Linked DNA regions of Homo sapiens: region 2 is linked to region 1. The links are contacts of gene promoters, found by promoter capture Hi-C in blood cells and fetal thymus (Javierre and others, 2016). All regions are on one chromosome and are shown on one strand. The core of a region is centred on a gene start or on the middle of the fragment in contact, and the rest is flanking DNA. Distances in the headings are between cores, read along the strand shown. Region 1 holds the start of NUP155 (nucleoporin 155). Region 2 overlaps DNAJC21 (DnaJ heat shock protein family (Hsp40) member C21).

Evidence for each region. The method cuts DNA at HindIII sites, captures the fragments that hold promoters and counts their contacts. A CHiCAGO score of 5 or more calls a contact.
Region 2: a contact is called between a fragment that was not itself captured here and the fragment with the promoter of NUP155 in region 1, in 2 of 17 cell types (naive CD4 T cells and total B cells). The highest score is 6.0, in naive CD4 T cells.

What each region holds. Positions count from the first base shown.
Region 1 is chr5:37,368,433-37,373,997 of GRCh38, reverse strand. It overlaps NUP155 (nucleoporin 155), which reads left to right and starts at 2,892. Exons shown (of 35, transcript NM_153485.3): 1 at 2,892-3,177. The coding sequence starts at 3,021. RefSeq lists enhancers at 2,900-2,989, 3,110-3,219. The HindIII fragment of the contact is 10,669 bases long and covers 1,882-5,565 here.
Region 2 is chr5:34,941,293-34,946,857 of GRCh38, reverse strand. DNAJC21 (DnaJ heat shock protein family (Hsp40) member C21) reads right to left here. Exons shown (of 12, transcript NM_001012339.3): 8 at 1,833-1,991; 9 at 1,055-1,097. Among named protein-coding and RNA genes, the nearest start is that of DNAJC21, 15 kb to the right of the region's middle. The HindIII fragment of the contact is 3,892 bases long and covers 2,370-5,565 here.

The DNA of each region.
Region 1 (5,565 bases), core at 1,643-4,142:
TTCACAAAGCCCAACTCAGTGACTAAGTATAGACTTCTAGAAGAATGCCCTGGAAACAATAAGCAGGTTAGAGCACAGGTTCCCACGTCTCTTGCTTCAATCAATGCATTTTTTAAAAAAAGGTAAGTTCAGTGTTCCTACCCCTTGCCTCTTCCAGTACATAAGATAGTGTCCCATAGGATTCATGATTATGCCTCTGTAATCTATAACCAGATGTACTCTTACACCCAAACTTTGATGAGATTTTGCTCTAATGTAATTTATGAGCTTTTTTTTTTTTTTTTTTTTTTTTTTTTAGAGACAGAGTCTCCCTTTATCAACCAGACTAGAATGCAGTGGCATGGTCATGGCTCACTGCAACCTGGAACTCCTGGGCTAAAGTGATGCTCCTGCCTCAGCCCACCAAGTAGCTGGGACTACAGGTCCACACCTGGCTGCCCAGGTTGGTTTTGAATGCCTGGCCTCAAGAGACCCTCATGCATAGGCCTCTCAAAGTGCTAGAATTACAGGTGTGAGTCACTATACCCAGTTTATGAGCATGTTTAATGTAATTTCTGAGCACATGCAGAGCTTCCAACCCCTGACATGTAAGCTGTGGGCTAAAAGCTACTTTGGAGCAGTCTTAACAGAAACTCTCTGAAAGGTTGCAATCCTGAGTCTGAATCAAACTGACTTTAATTCTTTAAAAGAGGGTTATTTTTCTTCAATTGACAGCAGATACAGATATGAGAATCCAGCCATCCGTTACTGAGCCAGACACTAAAGAGATTTGCAAAAATATGAAATAATCGCATTCTTCTCCCTGTTTTAGAAACTATAGTGATTTCTCATTTTAAAAAAGTGTTATATTAACATGGATTAAGCTTGGTATGCTTTTTTTTTTTTTTTTTGAAACGGAGTCTTACTCTGTTGCCCAGGGTGGAGTGCAGTGGCACGATCTCGACTCACTGCAACCTCTGCCTCCTAGGTTCAAGTGATTCTCCTGGCTCAGCCTCCTGAACAGTTGAGACTACAGGCGCACGCCACCACGCCCAGCTAATTTTTGTATTTTAGTATAGACGGGGTTTCACCATATTGGCCAGGCTGGTCTCCAACTCCTGAACTTGTGATCCACCTGCCTTGGCCTCCCAAAGTGCTGGGTGCTGGGATTACAGGTGTGAGCCACTGTGCTCGGCCTTGTTACTCTTTTAAATACAATGTTAAACATTTTAATTTTCAGTTTGAGTTATTCACAAATATTAATAGATGTAACCAACATGAAACAAAAACTCTCTGGAATCCTGAATAATTTTTAAGGGTATCAAGGGGGTCCTAAGACCAAAAAAATTCATAATTATCTGTTCTAGGGAAGAGGTCAGCAAACTTTTCCTGTAAAGTGCCAGAGTCCGTATTTAAGGCTTTGCAGTCTTTTGTAGAAATTACTCGGTTTAGCAGTTGTAGTGGGAAAGCATAGGCAATATGCCAATGAATTAAGTTAGTTAGATTACACTTTGGGGAGCTTTACTTCTATGCAGGAATATCACAGCAACGTTGTTGAATCTTCCAATTTATGGAGTTGAAAACTTTGTGTATTTTGTCTCAAATTAAAAACAAACTCGGTGCCAGACCACCACTTTTCAATCTATGGTCTACCAAATAAAGTAAACTCACAGCTAGAGACCCAACTGCCTATCTATATACCAATGATAAAAAATCCAGTTTTTCTTGGTATATTGGCTATGTCAAATTTTAAGTGTAGATTGGTAACATCAAAGAACTTTCAATTTTCAGAAATGTAGTCAAGTCTTTGAGGGAGTAAAAATGTAATTCAAATAGCAAAAGACCAATTTAGAGTAATTCAGTTATTGATTTGTGAAATTCTGAAGAACATAACTGGAAGCTTTCTTAGGTGAGATTCTAAATAAGAGCAGCTTTCTAAAAAGTGCTTTGATTTACCCACTCAGGTTGCCTTCTGTAGTAAATGAAGCCTCTTTTACCTCTCTGCTTTCTCCTATCCTGCTATAGTTTATACCTATCCAAATAGAAAAATTATAATGAAGCCCTTTGTCTCTGCTTGAAGCACCTTAAGGACAGGAAACACTGTGTTAGTTTGATAGTCCCAGCACCAGGCACAAGGCAAGTATTCAGTTTCTTAGGATTGTATGAACTCTTGGGTTCCTATCTCATACGAGTTCCTATACTAGCGCTGGGAATGGAAAGATGAATTAGAACTGTCTGCTATCTCTGCCACGATAAAAAGCACGGCAGCGGTCCACCTGCACTCAGCTTCTTCTTAAACACGTATTTTATACTAAGGGGCAACAAAGTCAAAAGACAGCGACACGCAAATGGAAAAGCCTGATGAATTCTAATTTACACTGAAGCCCGCGAAGAATATAGTGAGATACTGGTTTATATCCCTCTCTGTGACAGCGACCTACCAATTCTTAACTACTCTCACAAAAGCAGTTACTTGGAGAACCAAACTGCGCGCTCATGCGCGAACTCATATAGCTGCAGTTAGCGGATACCGACGCGGGAAGTTCCAAGACTCAGGTCGAGCACGCGCTTAAACCAACGGAACCTGACCAACCTCCTAGGCCAGACACACGACCTAGCTCCCACCTACCGTATCCCTCCTCCCTCCTTCCTCCTCACCCTATCCAACCCCATCCCGCCCCTCTCCTTCCCTGTTCCCTCCCCTTTATCCTTCCCTTCCTTTCCCTCCCTCCCTTCCCTAAATAACCTACCCTAATTTTACCCTGCCACACCCCAAAACCCTCAACCCCCTCGAAAGCATCAGCAGCCTCCTAGCTCCACCCACAACCTCTAGCCCCCTCCCAACAGCTTCCTCTTCCCAGGCCAGAACGGCGTCTTCCAGTTCCCCACCGGATGAAGCGGAAGTGCGTCATGTCGAGGCGCCAAGGCGCTCGTTTGGCGCGCGCGCCCTAGGCGGCGGATCTAAGCTAACTTCTTGGATCTTTTCTTGTTTCTCCTTGGTTTTTGACTTTTTCTGGACCCTGGTGTCTACGATTTCCGAGATGCCGTCTTCTTTGTTGGGCGCGGCGATGCCGGCCTCTACATCTGCCGCAGCCCTGCAGGAAGCTCTGGAAAATGCTGGACGGCTCATCGACCGTCAGTTGCAAGAGGACCGCATGTACCCGGACCTTTCCGAGCTGCTTATGGTGTCTGCCCCAAGTGAGTGATAGTGACCCTGCTTTCTCAACCTAAAGGACTCTCGCCTGACTTCCTAATTTGCTACTTATCCCCAGCGTTGGTCCCGGCGAGGATATGCTGAGATTTATGGCACTGTTGGCTGCATTTTTGGAGAACAGCAAGCAGCTTCTTTTCAGGTTTTTTCCTTTCCTCACTTTCTTCATTGTAGATACTTGAGAGGGCAAGAGTGAAGAGCAAGCTCCCAGTTGAAGCAGAAAGAGGCAAAGACCTCAACCTTAATGAGCTTCTCGCCGCTCTCAAGTGCTTATGGCTAAGGCCATATGAGAAGCATCTCCAGATCCAAGTCCCAAATTTGTTCATTTCTCCTGTTAGTGTTTGAGTAGATCGTAAGAGCAAACGAAGTTAATTTGGAAATTTAGCATGTTATCTTAAAGATACGCTTTGCTTTATATTTATTTGTTTATTTATTGAGACGGAGCGGTTCCCTCTTCGCCCAGGCTGAAGTGCAATGGCGCGATCTCGGCTCATTGCAACCTCCGCCTCCTGGGTTCAAGCGATTCTTCTGCCTCAGACTCCCAAGTAGCTGAGATTACAGGCGCCTGCCACCAAGCCCGGCTAATTTTTGTGTTTTTTAAGTAGAGACGGGGTTTCACCATATTGGCCTGGCTGGTCACGAACTCTGACCTCAAGTGATCCGCCCGCCTCGGCCTCCCAAAGTGCTGGGATTACAGGCGCAAGCCACTGCACCCGGCCAAGAAACGCTTTATTATGTGTAGAGATGTGTGTTATGAAATGCTGGAGGATCTTAAAAGAACTACCAGTGGAATAAAGAAAGAGAACAGGGAAATCACAGTGCTTATGTACAGGGAGAGTAAGGCAGAATATGTGTTGACAATATAGGTGACTGGAAAGTAATTTGTTTAACAGTTTTAAGTTATAACCAGCTCCCCACGGCTTATGGAATTACATCAGTTGCTAGAAAAAGTGACCCCTTTGTGAGATGGAATTTGGAGAAAACCAGCGAAGTGTAAGAAAGAAAAGATTGTTGGTGAGCAAGAACCAAAGTAATCTAAATAGGATAATTTGTGCAGTGTAAACCGAGAACACTTCTGATTATTTATAAAAATCATTGATAGCTTTGTAATCAAAGAAATGATAGAAACAAAGATAGTATTTGCTCCCTACAGCTACTTACCAATGAGCGTGTCTTATAATACCTGATTGGCCTATTAGCAATTATCATCTTGAACAACATTACTCATTTTGGCCTCCTTAGGTGTGAAAACAAGATATAAAAACAGTGCATGCATTCTGGTCCTTCTCTTACATATCTCATGCCTTTACACACACCTTCCTCTTTCACCCAGTCTCTTCCCCTTCTTTTCCATCCAATTTTTCATCCGTTGCTCTGATTACAGAGAATTTAGCATATTTTCCGTAAGAAGCCCCATCTTCAGGATTTCCTCAGGATTTTATCTTACTTTTATTGTTTCTGCAATGTTCTTTTTTTGCCTGACAAACTTTTTCCAGACTCCCTGTGAAAGTCCTTAGTTTCTCTTTGTTGTCTTTCTTTTTCTTGTTCTTTTTTTTTGAGTCAAGGTCTAGTTCTGTTACCAGGCTGGAGTGCAGTGGCATGATCACAGCTCATTGCAGCCTCTAACTCATGAGCTCAAGTGGTCCTCCCGCCTTGCCCTCCCCAGTAGCTGGGACTACAGGCGCCTGCCACCACACCCAGCTAATTTTTAATTTTTATGTAGAGACGTAGTCTCACTCTGTTACAAGGCTGGTCTCAAATTCCTGGCATCAAGCAGTCCTCCTACCTCAGCCTTCCAAAGTGCTGAGATTACAGATGTAAGTCACACTCCTGGCCTGAAGTCTTTCGTAGCATTCCCATCCTCACTAAAGTTATCGATTCCTCCCTCTGTGTTCCCACTGCCATTTAACATGGTGATCTGCCACCTTCGGCCTATTAAAGTTATGTTTTAGGATTAAATGGGATGTCTGGATTTGCTTTATTTATTTATTTTTTGAGACAGAGTCTTACTGTCACCCAGCCTGGAGTGCAGTTGGCATAATCTTGGCTCACTACGGCCTCCACCTCCCAGGTTCAAGCGATGCTCCTGCCTCAGCCTCCTGAGTAGCTGGGATCATAGGTGTTCGCCACTGGCTCATTTTTCTATTTTTAGTAGAGACAGGGTTTCACCGTGTTGGCCAGGTTGGTCTTGATCTCCTGACCTCATGTGATCCGCCCGCCTCGGCCTCCCAAAGTGTTGGGATTACAGGTGTCACCCACTGTGCCCAGCCTGGATTTGCTTTAATATGAATTCAGCCCAATAGTCTCAGCACTTTGGGAGGCCAAAGTGGGCAGATTACTTGAGCCCAGAAGTTTGAGACCAGTCTTGGCAATAT
Region 2 (5,565 bases), core at 3,066-5,565, 2.4 Mb after region 1:
GTTGCAATCAATAGAATCTATGCTCCATTAATCAAGGTAATACAGGCTCAGGTTAAACATAAATCTCTCTCCATTTATTTTGTCCTTACTGTAATGGTACTGACATACACAAAGGAAAGAGAAAGTGTTCCAAACTAATAATTATAAGGTGTTTGGATGGATGATGGTAGATGTCAATTTATAAAAAGAACACATATTTGCTATGCGGTTTTATAACTGAAGCAAAAAGTTCCAAATTACAATTTTAAGTGATTAACTCATGTGTCATATATCATTTTTTGAATAGGAAACTGATTTTAAAAAAGACTATTAAATATATTATTATAACCATTTGGATAAATAAACCAAATCTGAAGTTTTATTAAAAAGCATTAATGTGTTTTCTTAAAAATATTTAATACTTAATGTAAGTTAATATAACTAGATTATACTAAAATGCCATAAATCCAAATGTCCTTGGTAAAATGGACAAATTCACTTTATTTTTATAGGTATAACAACATAATACCATTTTATTTAAAAATAGTCCTTAAGACAGAGAATGAATTTGGACTTCAGCTGTGAAATATTTAAATTACTTAAACTTCAGAAAAATAGAAACATTTTTTCAAGACTCACAATCATTACAAGTTTCTAACCAAATGTTCCTTTTGCAATGTTTATGTTGTTGGCAGAATAAACTGAGATAAAAAAATGACCAATCCCAGATTTTCCTATTTCAAGATTTTAATTGTTGTCTTGACTTAAAAGCCTTTTGTGAGATGTATTCAGATTTTTAAAATACTGAAAATTCAGCTAATTCATACCAGGGGAATTCTACATGCATACTTGTTAAACACACTGGCAGTCATAATTAAGTTTGTTATTACATACATACAAGGGGGGGGAAGCACTAAAAAAGGAAAATATTTCTAATTCCTTTTTAATCAATCTTACAATCAACATAAAATTATGGAGTATAAGTTTCTCTCCTTAACACAGACTACACTGAATAAATAAGAGCACTGCAACTTTATCGTTGGCATTTAATGTTAACAAAACCTTTCTAACATACCTGTGCTGGTTTCTGTTTCTTTTTCTTCTGTTTTTTAGAAAGCCTAAGAGCAAATATAAATCGAAATGTCAAATACTTGACTCTGTGAAGAGTAAGTGGAAAAAAAAAAAAGTTGAAACACTAGTGATAAAGTAGTAAAACAGAAGTAAAAGATTAAAAATATTTAATATCTTAAAGCATTAAAAGGAAAATAAAGTATTCACATTGTCATTTTAGAGAATAACACAAGGCTGTAGTTCAATGGATAGTAATTAGCTTATCAACTGCCAGGTATAAAAACTGCTTTTAATATAGTGATAATATGTTCTATAAATATTATAGTTGACGTCTGTATCCACTTCAACACTATAAAGTTCCATTAACTAGAAAATATGGAGACAATCTTTTCTAGTTAGAATAACTTCCTTGGGATAAAACAGCCTTTAAGGCCGGGCGCAGTGGCTCACACCTGTAACCCCAGCACTCTGGGAGGCTGAGGCAGGTGAATTACCTGAGATCAGGAGTTCAAGACCAGCCTAGCCAACATGGTGAAACTCTGTCTCAACTAAAAACACAAAAATTAGCTGGGCGTGGTGGTGTGTGCCTGTAGTCCCAGCTACTTGGGAGGCTGAGGGAGGAGAATCACTTGAACCCACAAGTTGGAGGTTGCAGTGAGCTGAGACTGCGCCACTGCACCCCAGCCTGGGCAACAGAGTGATTCTCCATCTCAAAAAAAACCTTTTAATGCAATCTCTGAATGTGATAAGTATTTCTAGTGACATTTAATATTTAGAAGTACTTTTGTTTTGGTGCATCTTCCATTTCTTCCTCAGAATTGTCATCTAATGGATTTTCATCAATTTGAGGTCTTGAAAAATTTTCTTCTTCCTCCTCCAGCTGTTGTTTTAGCAAGGCCACCATTTCCCGATGCTTCTTTGACTTCTCGTGATTCTTCATGCTGAAAGAGCAATCTGACGTGAGCAGCTGCGCTAAAATTAGTTCACGTGTCCAGATAATGTTGCTGGATAACTGCAACCAAGATAAAATTAGCTTTTTTCCCACTAAGCAAAACGTTTCTGATTCTATTTATTTTTTTCTTTTTTTTTATTTGTTCATGATTTTATACAGAGAAACAGAACGTGTCAGGATTCCTTGGCAGTGAGCATACTGGAAGCTCGTGGCCACACTCTTTCTTTCCGTACCACAGCTTTCCCTGTCTTTCTCTGTCCTTTTATCTACATACATTTTCTTCCTTTCTGGGGATGGGGGAATGTCGGCAGGGGGAGGTTTGGACAAATTCTCTACTTATTATTTTGATTTTTCAATTCTTAAAGCTTCCGCCATTGTTTTCTTTTAATCACTAAGTATTTGCTAAGTGTTTTTACATTCCAGGCCATCCCACAGACTTGGAGGGATCACTGGGAAATTAGAAGACACACATTTTAATGTTAAAAGGAAGAGCCCCCTGGACTAGAGAAATGGTGGTGGGAAGGCTTGAAATACAAGAGCAGTTTACTGCCTCTTGCTTTTTCAACAGCTGCTTTTCACCTTCTCAGGAGAGGTCTCCTTTCTCACTCTCACCACCGTAACGTACATTCAGACACATCTCTATCCCTGTGTTCAAAACCCTGCTGGCAATGTCTGTCTCAGCACACCTACAGGCAACTAAAAAGCATTCAACAAAACAGGGTTGACAACATAAGCTACAAGAGTTATATCAACTAAAAAGCAGGAAACTTTGTCAACTATCTACTTCATCTCATCTGTTCAGGCTTTTGGTATTATAGTTTTAGTTGCTGTTTTTCTTTCCTACTAAAATTCTCCTTGAGACCAAGCTGCCCTGGAGATAATGGAAGATCCTGTGTCTGAAAGTAAGTCCTCCAAAAAAGTTATAAGCACATGTCAAAAGGACACAAGGGTGGTTTGAAGGAATGCTCACTAACCAATTCTGGAAAAATTTGAGCATGAAAAGGTCAGTAATGAATTATAAAACACTGAAAAAAAGAAATAAATTCAAACTGATAATAGATAAATGGATAAAAGGGAAGGCTCCTGTTTACAGCAGAAGGCCAAGTGCTAACTGATAAAAACTTGAGGGGGTACTGGCACTGGAAAAGCATCATTCTGCAACCATCATAAAAAAGACTGACGCAAGCTAAAACCATCAACAGATGCTAAAGCTATGAGGAAAACTTTTATGAGAAGCAAGATATCTGCATAGTTTTAAAGTGTCTCCTCACAGATTAAACATGTTACAAGGGAAAACCTGTTGCAAGGGAAAAAATACTAACTCTATAGTAAAATTAGTAGTATAGTAGTAAAATTAGATGACACCTTGATTGGGTGATGAAAATTATCACGACAAATGAGGGGTAGAAGGACTTTACGTGTCTCCAGCTATGAATCCCTGAGAGCACAACATGCTTGTGCGGCGTCCCTCCTGGGGCTGCATAACCTGAATCTAATCATGAGGAAATGCACAAAGACAAAATGAGAAGAATTCTATGAAAAAAGTGAAAACAGTGTACTTCTAAAATGTAAACAGCATAAAAGACAACACAAGCTGTTCCAGATTATGTTCTTAGACTGCATTCTGTATTGGAGAAAAATTCTATATTAATAAATAATTGATTGGCAAAATTGGAATGCAGGTAGTAAATTAGATAAAAATACCATATCAATGTTAATAATTTCTTTTATTTGGTCACTGTAGCATGGTTACATAAGAGAATAACCTTACTTTTTTTTTTTATTTTGAGACGGAGTTTTGCTCTTATTGCCCAGGCTGGAGTGCAATGGCACGATCTTGGCTCACCACAACCTCCGCCTCCTGAGTTCAAGCGATTCTCCTGCCTCAGCCTCCTGAGTAGCTGGGATTACAGGTATGCGTCACCACGCCCAGCTAATTTTGTAGTTTTAGTAGAGACGGGGTTTCTCCATGTTGGTCAGGCTGGTCTCAAACTCCCAACCTCAGGTGATCTGTCCACCTCAACCTCCCAAAGTGCTGGGATTACAGGCGTGAGCCACTGCGCCCAGCGAGAATAACCTTATTCTTAAGATATAGTGAAGTATTTAGAGGTAAAGGAACACTATATATGTAAGTTACTTTCAAATTATTCAGAAAAATACTGTGTGTGTGTTGAGCGTGTAGAGAGAAAGAGGACATGCAAATTGTGCAAAACGTTAGTAACAGGTCAATCAGACACACTATATTCTCTTCTTGCAATTTACCTTTAAGTGTGTCATTTCCAAATAAAAAAAAATTTTTAATCTCCTTCATTGTTGACCTTTTTCTTGCTTGTTTCTAATTTTTCTGCCTCTTTCCACTTCCCCTAGTACTCTGTCATTTCTCCCTGAGGTCATATGGTAATACCATTTATGACTCTCACAGCGCCATTCTCATCCTTTGGCCTCCTTTCTCTCTGATTGCCCATTTTGCTTTTTTTCCCTTGCTGATTCTACTCCCATTTTCTCCCGTGTTGTTTCCTCCCTCCTTTATAATAATGGTATCCGTTTTAATACTTCTTTCTTCATCATTGTTCCCCTAAGATAAAGTTCTTCCACTTCAGCAAAGATACTCTGGGCCAGACAAGTTTAAAGCCCCTATATTGGCAGCATCAGCCTGCATGGGACAATGATGGTGGGAAGTGAGTCTGACACCAATGATGGAGGGAGATGATTAGACACGGTCTAGACTTTTTGCCCATGTGACTATGTCTTCTTTGCCAAAACAAGCAATGCTTCTGGAGACAGTGCATGTGTTTTAAAAGCAGCTATAGGAATACTGGGATGAGTGACAATCAGTACAACAGGTTTAATGGCAGGTACAAATACCTCTTTCTACCCTGCTGGAAAGGAATCCCCCGAGACAGTATGTGGGGCTAGTTATCAACTGCTACAAGCACATTGTTTTTAGAACTTTCAAAATGTTACACTTCACCTCAAAAAAAAACACAAGGGCCAGGCGCTGTGGCTCACGCCTGTAATCCCAACACTTTGGGAGGCCGAGGTGGGTGGATCGCCTGAGGCCAGGAGTTTGAGACCAGCCTGACCAACATGGTGAGACCCTGTCTCTACTAAAAATACAAAAATTAGCTGGGTGCGGTGACCTGCATCTGTAGTCCCAGCTACTCGGGAGCTTGAGGCAGGAGAATCGCTTGAATCCAGGAGGTGGAGGTTGCAGTGAGCTGAGATCGTGCCACTGCACTCCAGCCGGGGCAACAGAGTGAGACTCTGTCTCCAAAAAAAAAAAAAAAAAAAAAAAGAAAACACAAGTTCAGAGATACTAAACTTACTCCTTTTAACTGGATGCAGTGGCTCACGCTTGCAATCCTAGCACTTTGAAAGGCTGAGGCAGGTGGAACACTTGAATCCAGGAGTTCAAGACCAACCTGGACAACATGGCAAAACCCCATCTCCAAAGAAAATATTTAGGTTGGTGCAAAAGTAACTGCAGTTTTTTAGCTGGCCATGATGGCAGGTTCCTGTAGCCCTAGCTACTTGGGAGGCTGACATGGGAGGATCATCTGAGT